2 separate regions of the Homo sapiens genome follow, and region 2 is linked to region 1. The links are contacts of gene promoters, found by promoter capture Hi-C in human tissues and cell types (Jung and others, 2019). All regions are on one chromosome and are shown on one strand. The core of a region is centred on a gene start or on the middle of the fragment in contact, and the rest is flanking DNA. Distances in the headings are between cores, read along the strand shown. Region 1 holds the start of ATP8B1 (ATPase phospholipid transporting 8B1). Region 2 has its middle 3.6 kb from the start of NEDD4L.

The links. Contacts are between HindIII fragments. The study calls those that stand out against the background at their distance.
Region 2: a contact is called between a fragment that was not itself captured here and the fragment with the promoter of ATP8B1 in region 1, in 1 of the 25 tissues and cell types used here (IMR-90 fibroblasts).

The regions. Positions count from the first base shown.
Region 1 is chr18:57,801,987-57,804,801 of GRCh38, reverse strand. It overlaps ATP8B1 (ATPase phospholipid transporting 8B1), which reads left to right and starts at 1,487. Exons shown (of 28, transcript NM_001374385.1): 1 at 1,487-1,804. RefSeq lists an enhancer at 1,230-1,867. The HindIII fragment of the contact is 14,543 bases long and covers 1-2,815 here.
Region 2 is chr18:58,039,196-58,041,956 of GRCh38, reverse strand. No RefSeq gene overlaps it. Among named protein-coding and RNA genes, the nearest start is that of NEDD4L, 3.6 kb to the left of the region's middle. RefSeq lists a cis regulatory region at 1-338. The HindIII fragment of the contact is 4,161 bases long and covers 1-2,761 here.

The sequences.
Region 1 (2,815 bases), core at 238-2,737:
CTTCTGTGGTGTCCCTTGAATTTCCTCCTTTTTACTTCCCCTGGCAACTCCTCCGTATGTCGCTGTCCCAGCCTCTCAAGTGATTCTCCCATCTTCAGTTTTATCCTCTCTAGACTATCTCCCTATTATTTTCCCTAAAACACAACCTTGATCATGCTCATGCTCGGTCCTAAATTGTCAACGGTTTGCAGGTGCTACCAAAAACAAGTCTAAATGTCTTAGATCAACCAGTGTCACCAACAGGCCCTATGTTCTCTTGCATCGGTACCTTTGTTCTGTCGTTAGCTTCAGAATATAAGTGCTGGAAGAGACCATCTGGTCCAATCTCATTTTACAAATGAGGAAACTGAGGCCTGGATAGATTGAGTGACTGACCAGCACCTAGTCAGAGATCAAGTTTGACTCATGAAAAAGAAGCCTAGAGCAGCCTCGGGGTTGGTATCAGACAAGATTCTACCAGTTGGCCACCCGTTGAATACCCTCTCTACACAACTCTGATCCTTAAAGCTGTGGATCTTTGAGTCCCATCAAGCACGGCCTCCTGTAGGAAGCCTCTGTGATGACCCAGTTGGGAGTCTGGACTCTTGGGCATAGATGTGAGCCTCTAGGTGACTGGGAATCGTGTGGGAGTCCTGGCTCCCCTACTGCATTTTAAGCAAACTCTGATCTTTGATTTTCCTCCATTCTTATCCCAACGACTCGGTCCATAGTCGGGGAGCGGCAAAAGTCTACTCAAGAAGGAGGGTAATGTCTATACTGCCAGGGAGGCACGATTCACCCGCTCAGACACCAGCCAGCAACGAGGCGCTGAGTCCAAAATTTCCACCTACACCGCGTGGTTCACGGGCCGCACCTTAACTCCTTTTGACTCCAAACCCAAAAAAACTCGATAGCGTTTGGACTCGGCAGAAAGCCTGCTGGCTGCAATCACAGGATACGTTTCTGGAAGTCTTGAGGCGCAGCCTCTTTCTTCACCCTCCACGCGGCGAACTTTGACGCGCATTCGGTGACCGGTCCCCAAACATGACTTGGCATCAAGAGGACACAGCTCCCCTTACCGAGGGAGCTCAGGTCCCGGGCGCGCCGCGGCCCCGCCAGCTTTCCAGGCTGGCTCAGTCCTCGACCCGGGGTGACGGCCAAGCCAGCCAAGGGCAGCGGGAAAGTGACGCTGGGCTGGAGAGGTGTGGTGGCGAGTGCGGCCCCCGGGGAGCTAAGAGCAGCCGCAGCAACTGGGTCTCAGGCTGGGCGAGGCAAGGGCTCGTAGGCTGGGCTCGGAAGACTGAAAGGGGTGCCCACCTGACTCCAGGACGCACGGAGGGCGTGGGGCAGGAGCTGGACCTGGGCCGCCTCGGGCCGCCCCGGGGCTTGCAGTCCAGCCCCTCTCCGCCCTAGGGAGGGAAAAAGGGAGGGGAGAAGGCCGAGCCCGCCTCCAGCCCCAGCCCCAGCCCCAGCGAGGCTCGGCGGCCGCGGCTGCTGGAGGGAAACCAGAGGCACCTCCCCGAGCGGAGAAACCAGTTTGGCCGGTCCGGCGGAGCGGAGGCAAAAGGGCGGCTGCAGAGGAAGGGTGCACGGACGCGGGGCGGGGAAAGGCGGGGGAGCCACTAGCGAGCCGCGAGAGCCGGAGGTGCCGCCGCCAACTAGACACGCTTCCCCGGGCCCCCGGCCAGCCCCCGTGCGCCATGCAGCGCTAGCGCGGCGGCCAGGGCTGGGGCCGGGCGGGCGGCGGCAGCGGCCAGGTGCGCAGCGAGCGCTCCGAGCGGCGCGCACCAGGCGGATGCCCCAGCCGGGGCCCAGCGAACGCCAGGTAAGCAGGGGTGCGGCGCCGGGGGCCCCCAGACCTTCCCAAGCCCCTTGGCCCGGCGGTGTCCTGCAGGTTCCCTGGCCGCTCCCGCCGCACTTTGGAGATCCGGGATGCGGCGGCAGCAGCTGTCAGCGCCCTCGGACTCCCGAGCCCGCACAGGTGGGATTTGGGTGGAGGTGCTGGGAGCCCCCGAGGCCTCGGGGACGGCGAGACACGGCCGGCTGGGCAGGCAGCGCTGCGGAGAGTTCCGTGGGGTTTTCACCTGCCTAGAGGAGGGAAATCTCGGGGTGTTTGGGTTCTTCGATCGGTAGCGACACACATGTCCGGGGGTTAAGCCAGGTAGGGCTTGCGGCTCCTTGGGGGATGCCGCTGGCTCCTGTGCGGTGGCTACCGCCCCTCTGGAAGACCCCGGTGACCGGGTCCTGCTGGGGCGCTCTTTGGGAGCAGATGCCAACGTGTCCGAAAAGGACTTGCGGGCCAAACGTATCTGACCGCGGCCCACCTGCCGGGAGGGATGGAGGGGGTGAGATCGCTCTCCTCCCCAGCTCCTGTGGCAGGGCCAGGTACTCCCAGACATCTTCCGTGCGCTTTATTGTGGGATGGGGAGGGGAGGTGATGGGGAAGACCGACACCACTGTTTTTCCGGTGACTGTCGGGTCGCGTCCGCCAGCCCCGCTGAGATGGCTGCAGGCATCTCCTTCCCTCAGCAGTTTGGTGCCCTGCGCTGTCACCTCGCTGTGTGCACGAGGAGGGGCAACTTGTTGGGGGGCGCGGGGAGATGTTGCAGAGAATGGCCCAGTGCTTTAACACCCCTCGCCCCCACTTCTCCAACTCCCTCCTTCTCCCCAAAGTGAAAGAAAAGTTCTGAAGTGTCTGCCCAACTTTTCCGACGGAGGCGTGTGCCTGTGGTCCCTGCCGGGGGTTGGTGGCTGGTTGCGGGGGGGGGCGGTGCTCGGAGCGCAGATCCGTGACGGTTGTACGGGGGAGACTGGATTGCAGTAAGGATGCAAATTG
Region 2 (2,761 bases), core at 228-2,727, 240 kb before region 1:
CACAGGACACGCCTTCCACATCCTGGAGGTACACAATTCCAGGCTTCGCCTTTGGGTAAGGCTATGTTATCTGGAAACTGTAGAGGGGTGTGGCAGTTTCTCTTCCTGTCTTTTATCATCTACTCCCACACACCCACCGCAACAGCCTATAGCCCTGCACTCAGGGTCATGTCCTTGTCTTTCCCTGAGGGATGGTTATTAGGAACTATAATATGAAACTTGCCATATGTCACTTATTGTGGGGTGTTTATAAAATCGTGATCCATGACATCAACATCCTCTGTGAGAAGACTAATAAACTAGACATTTATTTCAGATCTATGAAGAAAAGCTCTTTTGCTTTCAAGAAACTGGTAAGCTTTTGCATGGCAGATGACCAAAATTATTAAAACCGACTGTGTTTTTCTATCTACTTTGGCCACCAGGAAGCTCAGAACCAGTTTCATGGTCTTAAGCCATAAAAGAACCCATTAAAAAAAATCCCTTTTGTAACTATATACCAACTTTCCCCCAGTGCTGTGGTTCTCTACTCAGCATGTACATTGCAATCACCTGGGGAGCTTTCAAATAGACTAAGTGCCCGGTAACCAGCATCAGAGGCTATGATTTAATGGATTCTGACATCAGTAGTTTCAACAGCCTCCCAGGTGATGCTAATGTGCATTTAAGGCTGAGAACATCAGCTTAGTTTCCAAATTTTGCTATACATAGAAACATTTGGGAATTTTTACTACTGCTCCTCTCTGCCTCCCACTCCCAGGCGTTATGATTTAATTAGTACAGGGTGCCACATGGGCATCAGGAGCTTTAAAAGTTCCCCAGGTGATCCTAATGCACCACTGCCAAGTTTAGAGACATCTGGCCTAGATTTATATTACTATTCTTTTTTTTTTTCTTTTTCTTTTCCTTTTCCCCGAGAGACAAGTTCTTGCTCTGTTGTCCAGACTGGAGAACAGTGGCATGATCACAGCACACTGTACCCTCAAACTCCAGGACTCAAGTGATCCTCCCACCTCAGCCTCCCAAGTAGCTGGGACTACAGGAGCACACCATTGTACCGGCTAAGGTTTTTTGTTTTTTGTAGAGATGGGGTCTCCCTTGCCCAGGCTGGTCTCGAATTCTAGGCTTCAAGTGATCCTCCCACCTTGGCCTCCCAAAGTGTTAGGATTACAGGCATGAGCTACTGAGCCCAGCCTATATGCCTTTTCTTTATATATTTTCCACCACTCTGTTTTTTCATTCGTTTTTTTTCAACTTAGAGGAAATTGCATGTTATAAACACACTCAAATCTTTTGTGGAGTGAGGTAGAATATAAACAAACATACTTAGAAGACTAGCATCATCAATCAGTTTACCCATCATCTACTCTGAAGTCTCAGATTAGTAATCCAATTTCTTTTCTTTCTTTCTTTTTTTTTTTTTTTTTTTTTGAGATGGAGTCTCGCTCTGCTGCCCAGGCTGGAGTGCAGTGGCGTGATCTCGGCTCACTGCAAGCTCCGCCTCCTGGGTTCACGGCATTCTCCTGCCTCAGCCTCCCAAGCAGCTGGGACTACAGGCGCCCGCCACCACGCCCGGCTAATTTTTTGTATTTTTAGTAGAGACGGGGTTTCACCTTGTTAGTCAGGATGGTCTCGATCTCCTGACCTCGTGATCCACCTGCCTCGGCCTCCCAAAGTGCTGGGATTACAGACATGAGCCACCTAGCCCAACCTAGTAATCCAATTTCTTTGGGGGTGAGGGAGGACAACCCTTAAAGGGAACTATTCAGCAGGTGTATCAAAAGCAATGTTTCCTCCAGTCCGTTTTGCATCTACCCAACAATTACATAGAACCTTAACTTGTAGAGTCTCCTCTAGAATTCGTTTCCCTTTGTTCCCTTTGCAGGCTGCCTTTAGCATCTTAGATTTGATACTGTGGGTGTTTGGCAAATACTCTTCACTTGGATCATCAGAAATGAAAAATTAGCAGGAACAATTTTAAAGTACAATGGGTAATCACAAATAGGGAACATTTTAATGCTAAGCCTCTTTACAAATTATTGAGTTGTCTTAGCAAAACTATGTAGATCATAATCACATCTGGGAAGTACCCAAAGAAGAAGAATACATAATGTCACATGTTTAAGTTTCATATAAATAACACTCGATTTTTCTCTTCAATTTTCAGTGATGATTTGTCTTCTTTAAAAAGAAGGCCTATTAAGCAGACATTTCGAAGATGGCCACAAACCTGTAAAAACTGGTATCATCTTGGAACTCAGCACCATTCCTTGACACACAGAAATGTAACAAATTTAAGCCGTTTATGATCATATAAGAAATCTATATTATGCTTCAAATTTTTGACAAATATAGAGGTGGGTAGCAAAGAATGACTTGTAAATAGCTCATCTTTTTGTATAAAAATAGCTACATTAGGCCATTCTTGCAATGCTATTAATGAAGAAATGCCTGAGGCCAAGCACAGTGGCTCACACCTGTAATCCCAACACTTTGGGAGGCTGAAGTGGACAGATCCCTTGAGTCCAGGAGTTCGAGACCAGCTGGGCAACAAAGTGAGACCTCATCTCTAAAAACAAAAAATACAAGAATTCGCTGGGCCTGGTGGCTTGCGCCTGTAGTCTCAGCTACTCAAGGAGCTGAGGCAGGAGGGTCCCTTGAGCCTGGGAGGTTGAGGCTGAGGTGTGCCGAGATCACACCACTGCACTCCAGTCTGGGCAAAAGAGCCAGACCCTGAAAAAAGAAAGAAAGAGAAAGAAAG